Linked DNA regions of Homo sapiens: region 2 is linked to region 1. Evidence: promoter capture Hi-C in human tissues and cell types (Jung and others, 2019). All regions are on one chromosome and are shown on one strand. The core of a region is centred on a gene start or on the middle of the fragment in contact, and the rest is flanking DNA. Distances in the headings are between cores, read along the strand shown. Region 1 holds the start of FOXK2 (forkhead box K2). Region 2 overlaps TBCD (tubulin folding cofactor D).

Region 1 (4,787 bases), core at 654-3,153:
TAGGCTATAATAGGATCTTCTCCTCACACACCCTGCAGGAACCACCATGCTGAAAGAAGTGAGACAATTCAGGGGGCAGTCCCTCCCCAGCAGAGACTAAATTGGTACCATTTGTTGCTATTTCAGTTTTGCGAAGATGCGCGCTTGGAGCCCAAGCCATGGTTTCTAGGGCTGACACTGACTTCCCACGGAATTCTTCCTGTTTAAGAGGTTGTAGACTTTTCATGATCCTGAACCTTGAACGTCTCCACAACTGGTTAAGTACCCGTGAGATACATTTACAGGATTTTTTCTTTCTTTTCCCAATTTTTTTTTTTTTTTTTTTTTTTGAGACGGAGTCTCCTCTGTCACCCAGGCTGGAGGGCAGTGGCGTGATGTCTGCTCACCACAACCTCCGCCTCCCAGGTTCGAGCGATTCTACTGCCTCAGCCTCCCAAGTAGCTGGGACTGCAGGCACGCCCCACCATGCCTGGCTAATTTTTGTATTTTTAGTAGAGACGGGCTTTTACTATGTTGGGCAGGCTGGTCTTGAACTCCTGACCTTGTGATCCACCCGCCTCGGCTTCCCAAAGCACTGGGATTACAGGTGTGAGCCACCGCGCCCGGCCACAGGATTTTTTCTTTTTAATGTTAGGAGTTTCATTGATTAGTGAACATCTGGACTATTGATCATCTTGATTTAGATGGGATCTTGTAATTTTTTAAACGGTGGCGAAATTCTTTTTTTAAAAACTTAGTATCAGATTGGTTAAGATATTAACTATTCGTTCATGAGAGTTCATATATATATAGTTCATATATATATAGTTCATATATGTATATAGTTCATATATATAGTTCATATATATATAGTTCATATATATATAGTTCATATATATATATATAGTTCACATATATATAGTTCATATATATACATATGAGACGTAGTTTCACTCTTGTTGCCCAGACTGAAGTGCAGTGACGCGATCTCGGCTTACTGCAACCTCCACCTCCCAGGTTGAAGCAATTCTCCTGCCTCCGCCTCCCAGGTTTAAGCAATTCTCCTGCCTCAGCCTCCTGAGTAGCTAGGACTACAGGTGTGCACCACCACACCCGGCTATTTTTTTTTTTTTTTTTGTATTTTTAGTAGAGCTGGGATTTCACCATGTTGGCTAGGCTGGTCTCGAACTCCTGACCTCAGGTGATCCGCTCGCCTCGGCCTCCCAAAGTGCTGGGCTTACAGGCGTGAGCCACCGCGCCCGGCCTCGTGTATATTTTTAAACTGTGTGCTGACGACAGTTAAGTAAATGTGATTCAGAACTTCTGCGTATTTTGCAGGACAGTTTTGACACAATGACATGACTCGCTAGCCAGGAAAGATAACGACATCCAGTCCTGGAGCTGCTGGTTAAAAACGAACGTGTCACCGGGTCCCCTGGGTCTGAGGCCACGCGGCACGCGGCCCCTCCGCGATATTCCCGCACCTCGCGGGGAAAAGGCCGCTCGGCGGCCGGGCCTGGGCTCGCGGGCCGCCGCCTATCCGCACCCCGGCGTCCACGCCGGGTTGGGGGCCGCTGCGTGCCTGGCGCCCGCTGTGACCTTGGGCCTGGTCCCGCCCGCCGCGCCTAAGGCGCTGCCAGGCCGGGCTCAGACCCCCGAGCTCCCGCGCCCGCGCCAACCCCGCGCCAGCCCCGATCCCGCGCGGGCTGCCGACTGTCCGCCCCGGGTTTTCCGCGGCGCCCGGAGTCGGGACTGCGTCGGGCGTCGCCGCCGGACGTGCCGGCAGCTTGGTGCGACGTGTCTTGCCATTGGCCTGCTTCGGTAGCCCCACTGCCGTACGCCGCCCCCATTGGCCGGCGTAACCGTCCGTCAGCGAGGGGCGGGCCCGGCGTGCCGGCTCGGTGGCGCGGCCGCGCGTGCTCCCGCCCCTCGCCGCCGCTCGCTCGCTCGCCGGCCGGCGGCCTCCGCTCGGCCCCCTCCCTCAGCTCCGGTGCGCGGCGGCCGACGACCCGCGCGGCCTGGGCCTCGGCCCGCGCCACCGGCGCCCGCGCGGAGCGGCCCGGGGGCCCTCACGCAGGCCCATGGCGGCGGCCGCGGCGGCGCTCTCGGGCGCGGGCACGCCACCCGCGGGCGGCGGGGCCGGGGGCGGCGGGGCCGGGGGCGGCGGGTCCCCGCCGGGCGGCTGGGCCGTGGCGCGCCTGGAGGGCCGCGAGTTCGAGTATCTGATGAAGAAGCGCTCGGTGACCATCGGCCGCAACTCGTCGCAGGGCTCGGTGGACGTGAGCATGGGCCACTCGAGCTTCATCTCCCGGCGCCACCTCGAGATCTTCACGCCCCCGGGCGGCGGCGGCCATGGCGGGGCCGCTCCGGAGCTGCCGCCCGCGCAGCCCAGGCCCGACGCCGGCGGCGACTTCTACCTGCGCTGCTTGGGCAAGAACGGGGTATTCGTGGACGGCGTGTTCCAGAGGCGCGGGGCGCCGCCGCTGCAGCTGCCGCGCGTGTGAGTGGCCTCGGGGCGGGGCGGGCGGGGTCTGCGGCCTGCAGCGCCTGGCAGGACGGGACGGGACACGCGCCCAGGCCCGGGACCACCCACGAGCGGGGGCCCGACTCTCCCACAGCCGGGACCACCAGCGGGACCCAGGCCCCGGCTGGATCCCAACCCTCGACAGCCCCTGGCCCCGACCCCCGTCCTCCCGGTCCCCTTCCTGGCAGGTGCAGCCCCCCGTCTTTCCCCCTTCCTGGAGCCGGGGCTGCGGGCGGCTGCGCGCGCGGGTCAAGGTTTCTGGGTTCTGTGCGTGCGGGGAGTTCACGTGTGCTGTTTCTATTCTGCAGCGAGGTCGCGCTGAACAGAAATGTGAAAACGGTGTGCGGTGGGAGGAACTGCCCCGAACTAAAATCTATGTCTCTTAACCGATGAAGGGTTGTCTGTTGTCTTTTGTTGTTGTTGTTGTTCAGTCGTTTTCAGTAGTGAGCTGTTTCAAGAGTGCGGTGTTTTAAGCAGGAAGGACTCCTTTTTCCCTGCCGTGTTTTCAGTAGGCCAAATTGGAAGACGCTTCAAGCATGATGGATTTTCAATCTGTGCTCTGAACCTTAAAATTTAGGGAAAACTAGATGCTTTTCGCATAACTTCTACAAAAAGACAGTTGATTAGGAATTATTACAAGGTCATGTAGAGTGTTAAGTCAGCCTGATAGGGAACTGCCTATCCTGCTACAAAACAATTTAGCTTGGTCCTGTGGTTTTATGAAGTTATCGTTTACTCTGCTTGAAACACAAACTTGCTGTCTAGGAAATGCTAATTATTCCTCAGGGGCTCACTTCTAGATCATTGCAAGTACAGCCTTTGTCCACACAAACTGGAATTTTTTTGTTTTTTGTTTTTTGAGACGGAGGCTCACTTTGTCGCTCAGGCTGGAGTGTAGTGGCGCGATCTTGGCTCACTGCAATCTCCGCCCTTTGAGTTCAAGTGGTTCTCCTGCCCCAGCCTCCCGAGTAGCTGGGATTACAGGCGCCTGCCACCGCGCCCGGCTAATTTTTTGTATTTTTAGTAGAGACGGGGTTTCACCATCTTGGCCAGGCTGGTATTGAACTCCTGACCTCGTGATCCACCCGCCTCGGCCTCCCAAAGTGCTGGGATTACAGGCGTGAGCCACCGCGCCCGGCCTACAAATTGGAATTTTTAACGCTTTCGGTTGTTGGAGATGCTGGTAAGAGCTGTTGCTTTTCTTCTTGACTTGCGTGTTGTGTGTGTGTGCATGCGCTGTTCTGTTTCTTAGCATGGAAAGGTGCACCAGCATATTCCTTAAACTTTGGTAGTAGCATTTTAAAGAATGTTATTTTCAGGCCGGGCGCGGTGGCTCACGCCTGTAATCCCAGCACTTTGGGAGGCCGAGGCGGGTGGATCACGAGGTCAGGAGGTCGAGACCATTCTGGCTAACACGGTGAAACCCGTCTCTACTAAAAATACAAAAAAAAAAAAAAAATTAGCCGGGCGCGGTGGCGGGCGCCTGTAGTCCCAGCTACTCAGGAGGCTGAGGCAGGAGAATGTGAACCCTGGAGGTGGAGCTTGCAGCCAGCGAGATCGCACCACTGCACTCCAGCCTGGGGGACAGAGGAAGACTCCGCCTCAAAAAAAAAAAAGAAATTTTCAAATGAAAATGCTATTTATGTGTGTTTATACTGTAGACGGTATGAAATCAATGGTAGGGTCCTAATGGCTACCCTTTAATCTGACTTTTTTTTTTTTTTTTTTTTTTTTACAAAATACTGTGTCACAACAAAGGAAGTTTGCGTCTACTGTGAGGATCTTGAGTTTTTGTTTGTTTGTTTTTGATTTTGAGACACGGTCTCTGTGACCTAGCCTGGAGTGTACTGGTATGATGACAGCTCACTGCAGCCTCAAACTTCTGGGCACAAGCGATCCTCCTGCCCCAGTGCTCAGGAGTTTGAAGTTGCTGTGAGCTATGATTGCACCACTGCATTCCAGGCTGGGATTACAGGTGTGAGCTATGATCTCACCACTCCTCCCACATACCTGGCCAAGATTTTGAGTTTTTTGGAATTTTTTTTTTTTTTTCCTGAGACGGAGCCTTGCTCTGTCCCCCAGGCTGGAGTGCAGTGGCGCAATCTCGGCTCACTGCAAGCTATGCCTCCCGGGTTCACATCATTCTCCTGCCTCAGCCTCCCGAGTAGCTGAGACTACAGGCACCCGCCACTACGCCCAGCTAATTTTTTTTTGTATTTTTAGTAGAGACGGGGTTTCACCATGCTAGCCAGGATGGTCTCGATCTCCTGACCTCATGATCTGC
Region 2 (4,917 bases), core at 2,197-4,696, 300 kb after region 1:
TATGGGTGTTGGCATCATAAACGAAAAGGGTAAAGCTATGGTTCAGAAACTGACACGTGATGTGGAATACACTGGCCCATGACCTTCGCATGGTTGGTTGGCCCCTTCTGCCTGGCGGTGCCCTCCATGTGAGCTGAACCCTCTTTGCAGCCCCCATTCTGTTCCTGGTGGGACATGGAGAAGCTGTGCTGTCTCTGCACAGGGCAAGGGTTCTTTCAGGCAGGGGTGAAAGAGATCCCATCTTGGGGCTGACTCAGGAGGTGACAGGGCTGACATTTGATGAGCATTTGCAGCATGCTTTTTATGTTTTTGTTTTAGACCTCACACCATTCCTCTGAGAGCCGTCTTGTTTATATAAAGCTATAGTTGGGAGCCACGTGTGGTGGCGGTGCCTTTAATCCTAGCCTCTTGGGAGGCCAAGGCAGGAGGATCACTTGAGCCTAGGAATTTGATACCAGCCTGGACATCATAGTGAGACACCCTCTCTGAACAAACAAACACACACACACAAACACTGCAGCTGTGGGAGCCAGGAAGTCTTTCTGGTGTCACAGCTCATGCTCAGCCCTTCGGCCTCCTCCATGTCACACGGCTGAGCTGTCCCTGCACCTCCTTGTCTCCTTGGAGAGTTACTGTGGTTCTCTGTCAGTTTGGTTTGAAAAGTGAAAACAGGCTGGGCACGGCGGCTCATGCCTATAATCCCAGCACTTTGGGAGGCCAAGGCGGGGGGATCACCTGAGGCCAGGAGTTCGAGACCAGCCTGGCCAACATGGTGAAACCCCGTCTCTGCTAAAAATACAAGGATGTGGTGGTGCATGTCTGTAATCCCAGCTACTCGGGAGGCTGAGGCAGAAGAATCGCGTGAACCCAGGAGGCAGAGGTTGCAGTGAACCGAGATCGCACCACTGCACTCCAGCCTGGGTGACAGAGCAAGATCCTGTCTCAAAAAAAAGAAAAAAAAGCGCGAAAACAAATGCTTGGCAAATAAATGTCGTAGAAAGACACAATATAGATGAGCATGTTTGATGACTAAAGCTTTTGTTTGTCTTAGAGGAAATGTGGAGCTTCATTGGTGCATGCTAAAGGAGGAAGAAGTAAAACTAGGGAAGTCAGGTGGGCAGGCAGTGATGCGATGTTTGCCTGGAAGGCACCCTGGGTCTTTCTGCCCTTAGTCCTCTGAATAGGGGGACTCTGCCTGCTGGACTCAGGAAAAAAGCATCGCATTTTCTTTGGGTTACTTTTTAGGGAATCCTGCTGATTCCTCTCCACACATACAGTGCACACACACACAGAATCTCCATCTGTTGTGCTGTAAGCCTATTTCTTGGTCTCTGACTCTGTGCACACCACCACGCCCAGCTAATTTTTTAAAGAAATTCGAAAGTAGCCTGCGCAACAAAATGAGATCCTGTTTCTACAAAAATTGTTTTAAAAAGGTAGTTGGGTGCAGTCCCAGCTACTCAGGAGGTTGAGGTGGGAGAATTGCTTGAGTCCAGGAGGTTGAGGCTGCAGTGAGCCATGATCGCAGTGCTGCACTCACGCGATCCTCCTGCCTCGGCCTGTGGACAGTGGGCCATGTTCTTTTTCTCTTTGCATCATCACCTCTGTTTGAGGACTACTGTTAAAGGGCTACTTGGTCTTTATTTTAGGTGATTCAAATTCCAGGACTTTTCTTGAGTGGTCCTGGCGTAGGTCCTTTCACCTTTTTTGTGGCTCCTCTTTGAACACCTCTGTTGTTGTGGCAGGAGGAGGTGGGCACTCCTCACCATGAGTAAGCTCCTACAATGTTTGTGAACCCTTACGGTTTCCTTTGTTGGATACAAGAAGCACAGGTGGGGGGATGTATTGGTTTAAGTTTACCTTTTTTTTTTTTTTCTTTTTTTGAGACAGAGTCTTGCTCTGTTGCCCAGGCTGGAGTGCAGTGGCGCCCTCTTGGCTCACTGCCAGCTCCATCTCCCAGGTTCAAGTGATTCTCATGACTCAGCCTCCCGAGTAGCTGGGAGTCAGGCGCCCGCCACCATGCCCAGCCAATTTTTTTATTTTTAGTAGAGACCAGATTTCTCCATGTTGGCCAGGCTGGTCTCGAACTCCTGACCTCAAGTGATCTGCCTGCCTTGGCTTCCCAAAGTGCTGGGATTACAGGCGTGAGGCACTGCGCCCAGCCAACTGTACTATTTTGATAAAATGTATACATGTGCTCCTTATTATGCATTTTGTGGTTTTCATCAGTATTTTGCTTTTTGAAAAATGTCAAGTGTTCTGATCTCTTTGGACATTTTGTATGAACCCTATTTCCCTTGCTATCCTTATTGATTGAGAATTGTGCATATTGATTTGGGTAATAATAACTAGCACTTGGTGTTTTTCTGAGCTTGGATGTGTAGATTCATGTCTTTCATCAAACTCGGGTAGTTTTCAGTCATTGTTTCTTCAGGTATTTTTGCTGCCCCTCTCCTCTCCTTGTGGGACTCTTGTTATGTTAATACACATGTTGGTACTCTTGGTGGTACCCTATGAGTCTCTTAGGTTTTGCACTCATTTCAGCTCTTGAGTCTTCTTGTTATGTTAATACACATGTTGGTACGCTTGATGGTGCCCTATGAGTTTCTTAGGTTCTGCCCTCATTTCAGCTCTTGAGTCCTCTTGTTATGTTAATACACATGTTGGTAAGCTTGATGGTGCCCTATGAGTCTCTTAGGTTCTGTGCTCATTTCAGCTGTTGAGTCCTCTTGTTGTGTTAATATACATGTTGGTAAGCTTGATGGTGCCCTATGAGTCTCTTAGGTTCTGCACTCATTTCAGCTGTTGAGTCCTCAGTTCCAGAATTTCTCTTTAGTTTCTCTTTTAATAATTTCTTTTTGAGACAGGGTCTTGCTCTGTCGCCCAGGCTGGAGTGCAGTGGTGGTATCACGGCTTACTGCAGCCTCAACCTCCCAGGCCCAAGCAGCTCTCCCGCCTCAGCCTCCTGAGTAGCTGAGACCACAGGCCTGCTGCACTGGAAAAAAAAATTGTAGAAACAGGATCTCACTTTATTGTCCAGACTGCTTTCAAATTCTTGGACTCAAGTGATCTTCCTGCCTTGGCCTGCCTTGGGATTATAGGAGTGAGCTGCTGTGCCCAGCCTGTTTTTATAATTTCTGTCTCTTTATCAACATTCCATGTTAGTTTAAATGTTGTTCTTTTGGTCTCCTTTAGTTCTTTGTCCACAGTTTTCTTGAGATCTGTGAGCATATTTTTGTCTAAGACTGAGCACAGTGGCTCACACTTGCTTCCCAGCACTTAACCTTTGCTTTAAAGCCTAAAAAGGAAGAAATCTTTGCATATGTGTTTCCCAAATAACAGATTTGAGGGCTGTGTTGGTGACATAGGTCTGTTTATACCCACTGTGTGGCTAAAGCAGGTCTCTGTTAAATTAGCATCTACAAAGCTTTTCTCCTGCCTTCCCTCAAACTTAGGAAGCTCCCTATGCAATCTTCAGGCTGGGGTCCTTCACTGCCCCCTCTCAAGGAGGCCTACCCCTTCCCCCAGAAGGTGCAGTCTGTCACCCCATGTCTTATAAAGTGTAATGGTCTGGTGTCCCAAAGCCACAGAGAAGCCCATTCTAACCTTCCTGCAACTTTCTGAAGGTTGGAGAGCATGTTTGTTTTACTGCTAGGAGGCTCAAGGTCCCTGTGAACCTGCATCAGGTAGTAAGCCCTGCATGTCGGAAATACAGACTGCCTAACTCTTATCTAAGGTGATGTTTTGAGAAAATTTTTAAATGTATAATACATTTTATAAATTTCGAAAAAATTTTAATAAACATTAAATTTTTATAAGTTTATATAAATGTTATAAATTTTGAAAAATGTACAGAGTTGCATTGGAGCACACGCTCTCAGTGTTCATCGAAGACGTACAAGCAGCGTCTTACGACGATGTTGCTGCAGCTGCCTTGGGGTCTTGTTAAAAGCACCATTCAGTAGATTAATTCCCACCTGTGGACTGTGTTTTCTGGCTTCCAAAAGAAACTGTCATGTTTTTCTCTCTGGATGACGAAAACTCTGCACGTACTTCCTATGACAAGTGCGATTGGCGCCCACTGCTCTTGGCAGTTGAGGTGAGGACACAGCGTTTCTGTGACGGTGAAGGGGACAGGGTTTGGAGGGAGATTCAGACATTAAACAAGGAAACGAAGGGAGCAATTTCAGAGAATGGATAAAGTCGTTAAGAAAATACAAAAGGGCGGTGAGATCCTCAGTGATGGGGCCAACCAGTGACTTGAATAAGACTTGGGGAAGACCTCCTGGGGCGACATTTACGCTGAGAGCTTCTACCGTGAAGGAGCCGAGCAGGATGGACTCCTGACCGCAGCATCTCAAAGAGGAACGAAGGCTCGCACGAGCTGGGACAGCGGAAAGAGCAGAAGAGTGGGCACAGAAAAGCGCCTGGGGGCCAGATCCTAGAGGGGCTTCAGGAACACAGTGAGGGGTTTGGAAATTATTCAACATAAAGTCAGATACTGGGGAATACACGGGGGTGCAGTGGAAAGGAAGAGCGAGGGAGAGTGAGGCCATTCGGGAGCCACCACAGTGTTCGGAGTGAGACCAGAGCTGTGAAGAAAGAGAAAAGGAAATACGCTGCATGTAGGATTCTGAACTCAACGACTTTGCTGTTCTATTCAGTGAAAGAGAGTGAGATAGTAAGGTCAGTGAGTGACATGTTGGAGCCTTCCACATAGTAATGGTCTACAAAGTTATGGATTGATGAGTTCACACAGGAGGGAGTGAGAGATGAGGAAGGTGAATGGGTGGAAAAGCTTGAACCGGGTTCCCAGGCTCACTGGCATGGGGAGGTGGAGAAAAGGGGAGGAAGCAGCCGACATGGAAACCCGCAGAGGCTCCTTCAGAAGGGATATTTTATAGGAGAGGAGTCCGA

What was found. The method cuts DNA at HindIII sites, captures the fragments that hold promoters and counts their contacts. A contact is called where the count stands out against the background at its distance.
Region 2: a contact is called between a fragment that was not itself captured here and the fragment with the promoter of FOXK2 in region 1, in 1 of the 25 tissues and cell types used here (dorsolateral prefrontal cortex).

The regions. Positions count from the first base shown.
Region 1 is chr17:82,517,829-82,522,615 of GRCh38, forward strand. FOXK2 (forkhead box K2) reads left to right here and starts at 1,904. Exons shown (of 9, transcript NM_004514.4): 1 at 1,904-2,479. The coding sequence starts at 2,061. RefSeq lists silencers at 1,324-1,983, 2,434-2,613, 2,694-2,743. The HindIII fragment of the contact is 19,651 bases long and covers 1-4,787 here.
Region 2 is chr17:82,818,114-82,823,030 of GRCh38, forward strand. The region is part of intron 13 of TBCD (tubulin folding cofactor D); the gene reads left to right. Among named protein-coding and RNA genes, the nearest start is that of ZNF750, 19 kb to the right of the region's middle. The HindIII fragment of the contact is 3,186 bases long and covers 1,854-4,917 here.